Linked DNA regions of Homo sapiens: all the other regions are linked to region 4. Evidence: promoter capture Hi-C in 16 types of primary human blood cells and fetal thymus (Javierre and others, 2016). All regions are on one chromosome and are shown on one strand. Each heading gives the region's core, a stretch centred on a gene start or on the middle of the fragment in contact. The rest is flanking DNA. Distances are from core to core; before and after follow the strand shown.

Region 1 (2,700 bases), core at 97-2,596, 1.6 Mb after region 4:
AGAGGCTGGGCTGAGGCCGGGCTGGTTGTGGAGCGATGGCTGGAGTGGCTCCTCCTCCAAGGCTGTGCCCCTTTCTGCCACATTGAAGGTATGCCCCCTCCCACATCACTCTCCTGGCCTTTTTCTCTGCAGTTCCATGGATCTGATGCTTCATCCCCCACCCCCAGGTTTTCTCTACCTTCACAGCCACCCCCGCCTGGCTGCAGCAGCTCAGCCTGTGTTCTGTCTCCCTTCTCAGCCACCTGCCTCCTTCCTTCCTCCCTTCTCTCTGGAGCCCATCCCTCAGGTTACTGTCCTCTCTGTCCCCACCAGCCAGATACTTTCTGTCCCCTCCTGGCCTCTTCCCTCAAGCCCCTCCCCCTGTGCTTCTCCATTCAGACACCCCAGAGCCCCCTCCCCAGATTCTAGATTTCCCCAACAACAGCTGATACCATCAGCTGACCGGCTGGGGGCAGGGTTGCCAGGGCAACGGTGAGGGCTGCCTAGGTAGGCAAGTCTGCGGTGTGGAGGTGGAGAGGACATTGGGGCCAGGGCGAGGGTCGAGGGCAAGGCTTGTTGTCCTTCCCCATCCTGCCCAGGGGGCCCGAAAGGCCAATGAGAGGCTCCTGGGGTGGTTGAGGCTTTGCTAGAGACAGGGAAGGCACATGCCTGTAAATTCTGTGCTGGGACCCAGGGGTTACCAGGCAGGAAGCTCCTTTTTCATGAAGCCACCCTAGGGAGAGATGGGGTCCTTCTCTCTCTCTGCTGCATCCCATTGGAGTTCCCAGGGGATTCAGGTTACTGAGGGGCCAGCTCAAGTCTCAGTACTGAGGACCTGGTTGCATCCCTCCATTCTACCCTCCCAGGAGAGAGCTCATCCTTGGGTAACCAATTCTGGCCTGTGCCTGCACCCCCACCTCAAGAGGCTGGGCCCCAGAGGCCTCAGTTGCTGCTGTCAGATGGTGGGGTGGTCATGAATAGGGTAGGAGGTGCAGGTGCCTGGAGAAAGCAGGCATTGTCCGCCTGGGTCATCAGTAGCCCCCTCCCTCGACCCACCGCCCACAGCAACTTGAACTCTGGCTGTTTAGGAGGAGGCTGAGGGGCTCTGGGTGCGTGTGGGTGTGTGTGTGCGTGTGAGTGCTGCAGACTGCGGTGTGGGAAAGGGAGAGGACAGTGCTGGCTGATTCTGCTTTGTCATGACGCTGGGTTAATGCTCCTCTTGTTTGAAATGGATTGAGCTGCAGCGCTGGTGGAAGAGCGCGCACATCCACACACACACCCTTGCCAGCCACACGCTATCAGCTGGAAGTGGGGAGGGCGCGGGGAGGGCGTGGGGGAGCCAGCAGCCCGCCCGCCCTCCCGCCCCCAGACGAGGACTCCCCAGCACCGGGGGATCCAGGCGGCCGTGCGTTGCAGAGAAGCAGGGTGGGGGCAAGGAGGGTGGGGGCCCAGAGGGGAGATCAGACCGCTCAGCCGAGACCAGCTCCCCTCCTTCGCCAGCTCCCACCCCGCCCACCCACCCTAAGCCGGCATTTTTCCTGTTATTTGTGCTCCGGGGAAGCGCCGCGGGGTTCCTGGAAGAGACACCTATTACCTAGGCTCCTGGGGGAAGTGACAGCCCGTGGATCTGGCCTACGCCTCTCGGGCCTCTGTGGCCTCAGAGCGTCTGGGCCACACTGTCTGGGAAGAGGTAGGTGGCAGGGTCTCCGCCTCTCCTCCCCTCTGTGGGCACTCTGGGCCACAGCGCTTGCTGGCGAGCCAGGCTTTGGGTGGCAGCAGGGTATCTGGGGGGAGCCCACTGTGGGCCCTGTTCAGTGGGAGGATGGGCCGGCCCCTGGGACCAGCTGGGCCTGATCTAATGGAACCTTCTGATCTGGGGAAGAGGGCCTGGGGTGTTCTCATCCCAAGGATGAGAACTGCTCCCAGCCCAATCCCCTCTTTGCCAGCATCTCTGCCTGGCCTACCTAGCTGAGCAGGCCAGCAATGGAAGGGATGGACTGTGGGGGCACGGGGTGGGCAGGGGAGCATTCCCTCTCTGCTGAATACTGGCCCGCTGGCCTCCCCAAAACCACTCCACATGCTCTGGGGGTTGGAGCAGTACATTTAGGGGCCTGAGGCTGTTTGTTTGGAGCCTGCTTTTTAGGGGGAGTGGGAGGAGAGCCTGCCCCCAGCCAGTGGCTGGCCAGGCTGGGGTGGGGCTGAGTGAAGAGTGAGGCTGTGGCAGGGCGCAGCTGCAAGCCCAAGCCCAGTACTCCCCCTGTGCCCGCCGCTGGGGTGCTTGAAGGGGCCAGGGCTGAGCAGACATGCAGCCCCCACAGGGTTCTGGGGCTCCCCCTCCCTAGCTCTGTCCCTCAGGGCCTAGCAGGTCCAGCCCCCTTTCTTGGGCAGACACACCCAGTGTGTCCCTTCCAGGGACCAGTTGCCTGGTTGTGAGAGTCAGGGGAGCAGGGACAGGTCCAAGACAAGGAAGGCAGTTGGGCTGTGGGAATGGGGAGCCCAGGGAAGGCCTCCAGAGCTGGGTAAGTGGAGGGCTCTGTGTATGTTGCTGTACACGTGCACTACTCTGGGATGGATGCCAGGGAGAGGACCGGTGGGTGGGTGTGAGCGGGTGTTGGCAGCACCATGTGTCACAGTGAGGGGGCCTCGATGGGAGAGTGGGGGCATGAGCTGGCACACAGGGCTTCGGAGTCTCCCCGCGTGCATGCGTCCTGCAACGGTTTC
Region 2 (2,700 bases), core at 1-2,500, 1.6 Mb after region 4:
CAAAGAAATGATAAATGTTTAGCCGGGCCCAGTGGCTCATGCCTGTAATCCCAGCACTTTGGGAGGCCTAGGCAGGAGGATCACTGAGGTCAGGAGTTCGAGACCAACCTGGCCAACATGGTGAAACCCCATCTCTAGTAAAAATATGAAAATTAGCTGGGCATGGTGGTAAGCACCTATAAACCCAGCTACTTGGGAGGCTGAGGCAGGAGAATCGCTTGAACATGGGAGGCAGAGGTTATAGTGAGCTGAGATGGCACCACCGCACTCCAGCCTGGGTGATGAGAGTGAAACGCCATCTCCAAAAAAAAAAAAAAAAGAAAAGAAATAATGTTGAAGGTACCCCAGTTACCCTGATTTGCTCATTACACATTGTGTGCAAGTATAAAAATATCATATGTACCCCATAAATATGTACAATTAATATGTATCAGTTTAAAAAGTTAATGACGATGGTACCAATATTATAGCCTCATTTAGCAGATGAGGAAACTGAGGCACTGAGCTATGAATTAACACACCTGAAATCACAGAGCACAGTCCAGACTTGAACCCAGACTGTCCAGTTCCAGTGTCCCAGCTCTAGGTCATGACCTCAGGGTCATCCCCCTCCCCTGCCTCCATTTAGCCTTCACTGTGACCCCCAGCTGCAGCCTGACATCAGTGTGATTATTCACGGGGTGGGTAGCCTGGGGCCACTGAAGGCCGGTTTGCTTTGAGCACTGCTCTCCAATGAGGCTGGAAGCCCTTTGAGGGGCTGTCGTATTCACCGCGGGATGCCCAGGTCCCGCCCAATTGGCGGAATCACCGTTTGTTGAGTGAATTCTTGAACGTCTGTGCATGGCATGCATGTGCCTGCCATTTGCTCATCTTTACCACACACTTGGCTGCAATGGCTGTCACCTTCAATAGGCGCCTTGCCAGGGACAGAGAGCTCAGGGACAGCCAAGGAGACTGGAACTGCTCAGCTGGGGATAGGGAGCCTAGGGGGCCCTGGCAGGCCCCCAAGCCTCTCCTGGGTTGTCCTGGCCAATTCACAGGGAGGCTGACCCCAGCTTCCAGGAATAAAAGATTCTGACCTCTCCGTGGCAATGAGCCCCTGTCCCAGGGGTGTGCGGGAGATCCCTGGTTATCTGAGGTGTCTCCAGGGTATATCCGCTGAAACCCCACTTCCTCTTCACTGCCCACTGAGCCTGGGACCAGCTGCTGGTCACGTGCTTGGCCCTGTAGCGTCGCTAGCCGTGCTCCTCAGTGTGCTCCCCGCCCCCTGCCGCGGCGCCTCGCCTCCCGGCTCACCTCCCCACCCCACCTGCCCGCTGCGGCTCTCCGCGGGAGATCTCACCGTTCTGGAGACAGGGCTCGCTCGCTCTCACGGTAGGCTGGAAGAACGGGCTGTCTGGGCCTTAGGAAAGGCCCATGCTGTATAAGGCATGGGGAAAGGAAAGGAAGAAAGGCAACGAACAAGAAGGAGGGCTTCCAACTGCAGCTTCCTGCCGGCTGCAGGCCTCCCTTCCTAAGCTGAGCTGAGGCTTCCTCTCCATGGGCTGGGGAGGGGGCGCCAGGAGGCCTCGGCGGGTCCGCAATTGGCCGGGACAGCTTCTCACGAAAGGTCCTGGGCCGGCATCATCAGCCTCACCTGGGAACTGGTTAGAACTACAAATTCCCTCGGCCCCACCCAGACCGACGCCAAGGGCAGCTGTGGAGTGGGGCGCGGCAATGCGCCCCTTAACAGCCCTCCAGGTGATTCTGCCGCGCAGAGGAGGAAAGAATGGGAGAAGGGAAGGGGAGAGGGAGGCGGCTTCTTTGCGACTAATTGGACACCTGCCCTTCCCCTTCCCAGGCTTCTTAGCCCGGGCTTGGACAGCCGCCTTCCGGCCAGAGGGGATGAGGTTGCGCTGCGCTCCGGGAGCGCCGATGGCGTGACTGGCCCCGCGCGGAGCAGCGACAGTAAGGCTGTGTGGGGGGAGCTGGGACCTAAGCCGCGCGCACACCCCTTTCTCTGCGTCTGGTGGAGGTGCACAGAGGCTTTTGAGTCAGGCCCAAGCGCAGCCAGGTGACCTCCCCGCGGCCTTTCAAGCCTGAGCTCGGTGGACAGCTCCCTCTCCCGTGAGTCCCGCTGTCCTGTACGCGCCCGGTCGAGCCCCGGGCTGCGCACCCCGCTAGGAGGTGGGTACTCGTCCTCCAGGAGTTGCCGGTGAGCCCTTGACCGTGGCAGGTCCCCTCCAGCCGCGAGCGACCCCTCAGTACCTGCCGATGCCTGCTGGTCTCTGGCATCCTCCAGTCGAGGGTCAGGGTCAGGGAGCAAGGCCTCACGCGGGCGCCCTCCTTGCAGCTGCCCGGCCAGCCCGCTTCTCTGCCCGGAGCCATGAATCTCAGTAGCGCCAGTAGCACGGAGGAAAAGGCAGTGACGACCGTGCTCTGGGGTGAGTGGGGACTCAGGCTCCTTCCCAGAGACACGCCCCACCTCCGGTGCGCGGCAGCTTGGGGCGCAGGTGAGCCCCTCCTTTGGGAACGAATGGAGGGCCCCACTTCCCTCCCTTTCTCCTCCGCAGGCTGCGAGCTCAGTCAGGAGAGGCGGACTTGGACCTTCAGACCCCAGCTGGAGGGGAAGCAGAGCTGCAGGCTGTTGCTTCATACGGTAGGTGTTCCCAAAAGAGGGGAGGAAGATGGTGTCCGGGAACTTTCTGGTCCCAACGGAGG
Region 3 (2,700 bases), core at 1-2,500, 1.7 Mb after region 4:
GAGGAGCGCTCGCGCTGACCAGGCGCTGGGGCGTCCACTGAAGCGGGGTCATCCAGGCAACTCGGGGGAGGGGAAGCTCACAGACCGGTACTTCCCACTCCCCTGATTCTCTCTGTCCATCCTCAACATTCCTTTGCTTCACAGGGTCAGTGGAAGCCCCAACGGGAAAGGAAACGCCCCGGGCAAAGGGTCTTTTGCAGCTTTTGCAGACGGGCAAGAAGCTGCTTCTGCCCACACCGCAGGGACAAGCCCTGGAGAAATGGGAGCTTGGGGAGAGGATGGGAGTGGGCAGAGGTGGCGCCCAGGGGCCCGGGAACTCCTGCCACAACAGAATAAAGCAGCCTGATTGAAAAGCAAAGGGTCTGCTTCTGTCTTCCTGCAGGGCGCAGTCCTGCCCTGGCGGGGGCCGGCCAAGAAGGGAAGGGCCTTGGGAGAGCAAAGTGGGGTTTGCCATTCGCCCTCTGTCCCAGGGCGCTGGGGCACTGGGTCCACCTCGGCGGGGGAGAGGGGCTCGCAGGGAGCCATCCACGGGCTTTCGGCGCCCTCCAGCGGCGTCTCCGGAGGAGGGAGAGACACCAAGACAGCGAGAGAGACAGAGCGCAGAGAGCGAGACGCGAGAGAGCGAGGGTCCAAGAAGGGGAGATAGGGAGACGCGGGCGGAGAGACCGACCCGAGGCGGGGGCGCGGGGCAGGGGCGGCGCGAGGACCTGACAGCGTGTCCCGCGGCGGGGCGGGGGCTCGGCCGCGCGCCCGCGGGGGAGGCCGCCGCTAGAGGGCACTTCAGGAGGGACAGCCCTCCCGGCACCCCGGGGCCCGAGCTCCAGCCCCGGCCTCGCGGCCCGCGGCCCGCGGCCCGGGCGGCCCGAGCCCCCTCCCCGGGCGCGCGGCTCTCCGCCTTCCCCGCCCCGGCTGGCGCGCGGCCCGGCCCGGCCGAGCACTGTCCCGGCCCCGAGGGGGGCAGAGCTCGGGCGAAAACCCGCCCTCCAGCGAGCTCATTTCCCTAAAAAGGGGGGGGGGAGTCGGAGGGAGGGAGGGAGGGAGAGAAAGAAAGAGAGAAAAAGAAGGAAAGGGAGAGGGAGACGGCTGGAGCCCGAGGACGAGCGCGGAGCCGCGGACCGAGCGGGGGGCGGGAGACAGGAAGGAGGGAGGCGAGCAGAGGGAAGGGGAAGAGGTCGGGGAGCGAGGGCGGGAGCGGTCGCGGTCGCGATCGAGCAAGCAAGCGGGCGAGAGGACGCCCTCCCCTGGCCTCCAGTGCGCCGCTTCCCTCGCCGCCGCCCCGCCAGCATGCCCGGCGTGGCCCGCCTGCCGCTGCTGCTCGGGCTGCTGCTGCTCCCGCGTCCCGGCCGGCCGCTGGACTTGGCCGACTACACCTATGACCTGGCGGAGGAGGACGACTCGGAGCCCCTCAACTACAAAGACCCCTGCAAGGCGGGTGAGCGCCCCCCGGCCCCCCGGCGACGGGCCAGGCGGGGAGGCGCGGGCGGGTTCGGGCTTGGGGTTGGGGGAGGACAGTCCAGTGTGGGAAGCCGGGAGCTGCCTGGTTGGCAATGCAGTGGGGAACAAAAGAACGAGGGGGAGAGGGAGGGGGATTTGGGGGACTTTTCGGACTGAAGTTTTGCCGCTGTTGGTGGAAGCTGCTGCCGCTGCCTCTCATCTTCCCAGAGGATTCCAGAGGAAGTCTCCTTGCGTCCCGGGAAAACCGGCGGGCAAGGCGGCTTTTCCTTCTGTAGGAAACTTTTCTGGCCAAACTCCTGTGCGTGCGTGTGTGTGTGTGTGTGTGTGTGTGTGTGTGTGTGTGTGTGTGTTCTTTCCCCTTCTCCCCCATCTCTCCTGCTCCAGGAGCTGGGTGTTTTCCAGCCTGTCTGGGCTGCCCTGGGGCTGCACATCTGTCTGGCTTGGATCTGGGAGGCCTGAGTCTCCAAGGAGCAGGTCCCCCAGCCACCACCCAGCCCAAGTGGAAGAAGAAAGTTTTTCCAGGGATTCCCTGAGATCGTGCTCTCTGGGTATCCCGTAGTTTAACCAGTAGCTGAAGCTTTCTGGGACTTAGGAGACAGCTGTCAAAGTCAGAGAAGCCAACCCAGAAGGGGGACTTAACTTTGTCCCTATGTGCCCAGAGACCCCCGCCAAGGCCAAGTTGGGGTGGAAAGAGGGAAAATACAAAGAGAACCCAGATATTGTATATCAGCTCTGTCACCCCCGAGACACCAGAGGCTAATTAGCTGAGGTCAGGACCCCGGAGTGTGTGTTTGCCTGTATGTGTGTGTGTTCTTTGTCTCTGAAGACTCTATGTAACCCCATCACTCCTGCTGAGCCCAGAAGGGTCCTGCCCCTGGAGTGACCAGATGGCCAGGCACTCGGGCCATTTGCCTGATTGGATGACCCTGGGCAGGCTGTTTGGGGACACACAGGGACAAGATATCAGAACTTTTCCTTGACTTCCTGCCTCTCTGACTTCAGCTCATCTCCAAATAGCCAGAGCCAGGGGAAGTGGCATAGTTGCTAGAACTGGACTGCCTGTGTGGGGCACCAGGGGCGGAGGGGCAGGTTGCTCTAGTCCTGGCTCTGGAGACCCTGTTCAGGGACTCTCCTGGGAGGGTGGCCCACAGGCAGGAATAAGAGACCATCCAATGGAGGAAATCAGGGCAAATCCCTCAGCCCTTACCCCTCTACACCTGCTGGGCTGCGGGTAAACCAGGACAT
Region 4 (2,700 bases), core at 192-2,691:
TGGGAAGGGCCCTTTCCACTCCAGATCCTAAGACTGCAGGGCGGCAGGCAGTCAAGTGATCCCTGGAGAACACTGAAGCTTCCTGGTAGTCTTTGCTTGTAGTTTTTAGGACCTTTTGGGGTTGAAAAAGAGAGCTTTTTTTCTCCCACACTTTTTAAAAAGGGGAAAGGGGCATTTGCAAGGCCTGGAGTGGGGACGGGTTTATGCCTTATGGCCACTAGATGGCAATAGCCAAACGTGCGCAAAGCAAGCAGCCCGCAACCCCGCCGGCAGCCTCTCCCAGCATCTCTTGCCACGGAAGGCCTGGTGATGGGGGGAGGGTGGCGAAAGAAGAGGCAGGAAACAAACGCATAGGTAGGCAGGGGAGGGAGGCGTTTGAGAAATGGGGTTGGTCTGAAGCCGCACGTGAGGAAAGAGGTGTGGTGAGTGCAGGATGCTGTGCTGCCCCCACGCAGGGCTCAGCCTGCTCTCCAGTAGGGACCGGCCACTGGGGCCCCAGCTACTCTGTGAAGTCCTGGCCAGGTGAGGGTGGAGCACTGGTCTGGGCGTTACCACACCTGGTTCCTGCTGTGCTCAGGTGTGACCTTTGGGATGCTAGGTATTCATACAGGGAGAACAAATGGTTTCCTGTTTCTCAAGGTGGCACTGAGGAGGGGCTGTGGTTTCATTTGATTTCAGGGGTGTCCTGGGGTCAATGAGGCAGGGCATAGTGCGGAGGTTTGCATGAGGTTGCAGTTTAAATTTCCTATCATGAAAGCTGTCCCTCTGCCCAGAATAGCCTGGAGGCTGGATCAGCCTGTCAGTCAACCCATCCACAAATACAGGCAGGGGAAGATGGTGGGAGTTCAGTCAATATTTGTTGAATTGTGTTTAATTGAATCATCTCTGCACTTCAGAACCTTATGAGAGAGAGAGAGATTTGGAGAATAATTTAGTGCAAGACCATGGCTTACTATCAGTGGAATTGGACTTCAGAAAAAAAAAAAAAAAAAAAAAAAGAGAGAGATAGCATTAGGCTAATAGAATTTGAGGTAAGTCTTGAGGGTTTAGATAATAATAAGCTACAGGGTGACAGACAAGACAGGAAGGTCCTGGCACAATTAGGATATTTTACCTGTAGCGATTGAGGGTTCATGTTACAGTCAGCAAGAGAAAGTGGGCCTAGGTTGAGTGTGGGTGCTTAAAAGTCAGGCTGAGGAGTTGATTCTTGATACCAACGTAGTAGGGAGCTATTGCAAGTTCTTGAGCAGGATAGTGACTGGCTGGAAGTGTTAGTTGAGATAACTCTCAACTATGGCTCATGACTGGGAGGTGATTGAGGGCAAGGATGGTGGGTGCTTCTTTCCTAGGGCTCTCGCAGGGATCAGCATCATGCTTGGCCTTGGTAAAGGTTCACTAGACGTTGAATTGAATGGATGGGTGTTAGGATCCCCAAGGACATGGAGGCCAGCAATGGATGTCCTCAGGGGAGGTCAGCTTTCCTGGTGAGTGAATGGAGCAGAGCCAGGGTTGCCGGCGGGTTGGCAAGCGCCGCCCACGCCAAGCACCAGTTTTCCAAGGGCTGTTTTGTTCACTGGCTCAGCAGAGCGTGTGAGATGTGATCACAATCTTGAAATAACACAGACAGTCTCTGCTCTCTGCCACTTCCTATTCTGCTGATCCTCTTATTTGACAATACCTAAGAAACACCTACATCTTCCTCTCCTCCCAGACCAGCCCACTTGTGGGAATCTCTGCAGTCTGAGGATGTCAGTGTAGACGGCACCCTGCCAGCAATCCCCCTGCCTGGACGGAGGTGTCCTCTGGGGTGGAGAGAGCATGTAGAGTCAGTCTTAGCCAAACAGTGGTGTGGGTGACACATCCGGGTGCTTTCTGGCTTTCTGCCGTGGTGGCAGGCGGGGCTGTCTGAACCACACACTGTTTTTATGAAACAGCTTTCTCTTTTCAAGGGCTCTTACGTTTGCTTCCATTGCTGGTCTTGGAACAACTCTCAGGTTGGTATCATTTCATCCATTTACAGTTGAGCAAACTGAGGAGTGGCATTGGTAGGTGAGTTGCAAGAGATGACACTATTCCTATACTGGGGACCTGAAGATGAGCTCCTGCCATCTCACACCAAGCCCTGTGCCTGTCCTGTGAGGCCCTGCAAACTGGGCCCAGGCTATGTGAGCAGGGTGGGGGACACTAGGCCAGTCCAAGCCACCATACCAGTGCTCAAATGTGGAGGTGGTGAAGCCAGGTAGGACAAGGAGAAACATCCCCAGGGTGCAGGAGCACAGTAAAACATGCATGTCGGAACCCTCATGCTTCCTAAAAGCCAGGCTTTTAGGGCCAGGGCCAGGCTCAAGAGTAGCCTGATCTTTGGTGTCTCTGGAAATCAGGTTGTCAGAGAGATAGGATCCTTTGTGGAATAAGAGCCAGGGGTCAGGAACACTCAGGTATCTGGCAAAAGAATGAGTCAGTTATCAGTCAGTGAACAGTCACTGAACACCTACTTAGCACAGGTGATGAGGAAGACATGATTCCTGACCCCAGTGGGGACAGAGACAATGAAACCAGCAGTTACAGTATCATGTGCTGTTTATGGTAATAGGGGTGCATAAAAATGCTGTGGGAGTCTGAAAGAAAGAGTAGTTCTGTCTTCTCTGGACTGATGGGACTTCAGGAGTTTGTGACAGAGGTCATGTCATGGACGTAGAT
Region 5 (2,700 bases), core at 53-2,552, 1.7 Mb after region 4:
ACCCAAACCCCCACGCTCACATATTCACGAATGTTCTTGGTCTTCACAGCCTTATAGGAAGCATAAGCTGGACACAGCATCCCAAACACCAGCCTGGAAGAGCAGCCATGGGGAGTGTGAGGGGCACCATGCCCCACTCCCACCTTGCCAAGTGGCCATTTCCCCCCACTGGGGTGCAAGGTGGCAGTACCCGCCCTGTTTTTCTCGCTTGGCTTGTACAACCCGTGCCTGAGTCAGAGCCCTGGAGGCCACCTCCCCACCCTGCTGTTTACAAACATCCCAAGCCTGCCCAGGCCTGCACCGGTGGCCCATGGGTGCATGATGGAGTGAGAGGACAGCCACTCCACGAAGTGGGTGAGAACACCAGACTGTCCCCTCCCATGGGCATGCAATCAGGCCCAGGGTCACCAGACCTGACACTGCTGGGTTGCAGATAGGGCTATGTGAGCCAGATGTTGGCATACTCAAAGGTGAGGAATAGGATGGTGAGTCATGTGACTGCTCAGATGGCAAGCAGGCACCTGGATTCTCCGCCCACAACGTGCCATATCACCTTGTGTTTGCCAAGGGGCAGCAAGGTAGGCCTGTGGCCCTCGGCTCCACGCATCTGTTTGCAGTGTGTGTGGCGTGCGGCAGGGGTCGTTCTCAGCCAACGAGGCTTGGTGGGGCGGGTAGCCTGCGGTGCCCCAGACACCGCGTGCAAGCCCACAGGTCCGTTAACCCTTGCATGGAGTGCTGGAGGGTGGAGCTCAGAAAGTTCCTCCTCCCACTAGACGTCCACAGCTTCCACCACAGGGGCGGGACGGCACCCCGGGGTAGAGGAGGTCTGAGGGCGGCCATACTCACACCACCAGGCGACAGATCATCCAGGACACCATCTTGCCGGCCTTTGGGACGTGGGGAGGACCCCAGGAAGCCGCTCAGAAGGACGTTCACTCAAGGGCTGGGACGGGGGGTGATCAGGGCAGTTGCGGGAAGCAGAGGGGCGATCCGGCTGTCCCTCGGCGGAGGCAGAGCCCGCCGCCCACGGCCTCCGACTGTGCAGTTCAGGGGACCTGGAGAATGGGGAGACCCGAGGCAAAGCGGCCCCGGCGGGGAGGAAGCCGACTTGGGAGCGGGCGCGCCCCGCGGCCGGGGCAGTTACAGCTCCCACCCGCCCTTTCTGCCGCGGAGAACCTGGCGCTCGGCCCTTGCTGCTGGTCCCGCGCTGGAGCGGGTCGCCGCGGTTCCAGCGCGCCGGGCCACCAGCACCGGCCTACAGGGCGGAGTTCGCAACTCACTTGAAAGTTGCACGGAACCGAGTGCTGCCCAACCCCAGGGCTCCGGCTTGCCACGCAGGCGCAGTGTAGCCCCGGAGGGGGCGGGGCGAGGTCAGGGAGGCGAGAGGCCGGCCCCTTAAAGGGGCGATGTGCCGCGGGACTCGCGCGTGGGGCCCACAGTGGAGCCACCTTCCCAATCGGAAAGATTAGCGTGTGGGAAGCTGTAACAAAAAAGCAGGGGGAGTGCGGGGGTCGGCACACAAAGAAAATCTGGACTCCAGAGTTTAAGCGACCCTTCACTGGCTTTTCCCGGTGTCTTTCCCTCTCGCCTCATTTTCCCCTCTGTGAACCGGGTAAAGGCATGAGATGCGGTTGGTGGGGTAGAGGGAAGGATCTCCTCTGCAGGCTCAGTCAGGAGCTGGAAGGAAGCTTGGCTGAGCGCCAGCAAGTCCGGGTCTCACACCAGTGGGTCCAGGAGGGAAAGGGGGGAGGTGTGGGGGGAGAGGGAACCTGAGGGACTTTTTGCCCCACCAGGTTTCAGGGGTTCCCTTCTCTCTGGGATGCCTTTCCAGATCCCTGACTCCGGGGCAGGCTGACCGCGATGATTTGAGGCATTCTGGGTAGAGCTCTCAGCTCCCACACTCCTTCAGCAGAAGTTTGAAATTCCACCTATTCCTCTGAGCCAAGTACACAAATAACCCTGGGCCCTTAATAGTAGTATCAACCATTGCCATTTTGTAATGCACGTTTGCACGCAAGGTCTTAGTCTTTGCAAACTTCTTTTAACCATGTAGGAAATAGGATGCTCAGTGGTGAAAAGTAACTTTCCTGGTATCACCCAGTGGTATTTATTGCTGGCTGGTGGCTACATGCTTGGCTTGATCAGTCTTCTGAGAGATCAGCAGCTGCAGGCTGAGTGGCCCTGCAGAGGGCCATGGAACCGGATAAGTTCCTCTGGGAGGGAGGCAGATGCCAGGAAGAAGGGGGAAGGCTCTAAAAAAGAAGGCAAACGTTGCTGCTTCTACTACTTGCCCTGTGAGGTTTCATTCTTTTTGACATCTTCAGCTTACTGCCTCTGTTGTTCCCTCTGAAAATAGTGTCCCCCCACCTTGCAGAGGGTGGGAGCAAAGCTGTCCGGGCATGTGGGGTGGAAACACAGGCAGTTACTGCTTTTTATTGGAGCCACAGTTAACCCCCACCAGCTATCATAAGGATGGAATAGGTAATCATGGGGCCAGGGAAAGGAGGCTTCTGGGGGATAAATAAACACACGGTGATTATATGGTCTTAATTACTGTCATCAGTTTTATTGGTATTGCTGGGTGTGAGAGCCAGCAGTGAAACCAGCCCACAGGAGAAACTTCCCCGAGGCCCCATGTCTCCCTCTCCTCTCTTAACCAACCCTCACATTTACCTGTCCCCCCTTACACACACACATTGG

What was found. The method cuts DNA at HindIII sites, captures the fragments that hold promoters and counts their contacts. A CHiCAGO score of 5 or more calls a contact.
Region 1: the fragment with the promoter of DMTN here is called in contact with a fragment that was not itself captured in region 4 in 2 of 17 cell types (naive CD8 T cells and non-activated CD4 T cells); the score reaches 5.4 in naive CD8 T cells.
Region 2: the fragment with the promoter of NPM2 here is called in contact with a fragment that was not itself captured in region 4 in 4 of 17 cell types (naive CD4 T cells, total CD4 T cells, naive CD8 T cells and 1 more); the score reaches 15.7 in naive CD4 T cells.
Region 3: the fragment with the promoter of BMP1 here is called in contact with a fragment that was not itself captured in region 4 in 7 of 17 cell types (naive B cells, naive CD4 T cells, total CD4 T cells and 4 more); the score reaches 11.4 in naive B cells.
Region 5: a contact is called between the fragment with the promoter of REEP4 here and a fragment that was not itself captured in region 4, in 9 of 17 cell types (naive CD4 T cells, total CD8 T cells, total CD4 T cells and 6 more). The highest score is 23.8, in naive CD4 T cells.

The regions. Positions count from the first base shown.
Region 1 is chr8:22,055,468-22,058,167 of GRCh38, forward strand. It overlaps DMTN (dematin actin binding protein), which reads left to right and starts at 1,347. Exons shown (of 16, transcript NM_001387751.1): 1 at 1,347-1,669. RefSeq lists an enhancer at 2,465-2,700. The HindIII fragment of the contact is 49,236 bases long and covers 1-2,700 here.
Region 2 is chr8:22,022,884-22,025,583 of GRCh38, forward strand. NPM2 (nucleophosmin/nucleoplasmin 2) reads left to right here and starts at 1,251. Exons shown (of 10, transcript NM_001286680.2): 1 at 1,251-1,740; 2 at 1,841-1,947; 3 at 2,333-2,423; 4 at 2,553-2,638. The coding sequence starts at 2,366. RefSeq lists enhancers at 339-1,052, 1,053-1,765. The HindIII fragment of the contact is 16,503 bases long and covers 1-2,700 here.
Region 3 is chr8:22,164,122-22,166,821 of GRCh38, forward strand. It overlaps BMP1 (bone morphogenetic protein 1), which reads left to right and starts at 1,251. Exons shown (of 20, transcript NM_006129.5): 1 at 1,251-1,432. The coding sequence starts at 1,285. It overlaps SFTPC (surfactant protein C), which reads left to right. Exons shown (of 6, transcript NM_001317778.2): 6 at 145-358. RefSeq lists a silencer at 507-1,546. The HindIII fragment of the contact is 3,783 bases long and covers 1-2,030 here.
Region 4 is chr8:20,435,239-20,437,938 of GRCh38, forward strand. No RefSeq gene overlaps it. Among named protein-coding and RNA genes, the nearest start is that of LZTS1, 130 kb to the left of the region's middle. The HindIII fragment of the contact is 2,730 bases long and covers 77-2,700 here.
Region 5 is chr8:22,140,605-22,143,304 of GRCh38, forward strand. It overlaps REEP4 (receptor accessory protein 4), which reads right to left and starts at 1,303. Exons shown (of 8, transcript NM_025232.4): 1 at 847-1,303; 2 at 21-93. The coding sequence starts at 878. RefSeq lists an enhancer at 1-292 and silencers at 1,057-1,206, 1,217-1,346. The HindIII fragment of the contact is 1,867 bases long and covers 1-1,686 here.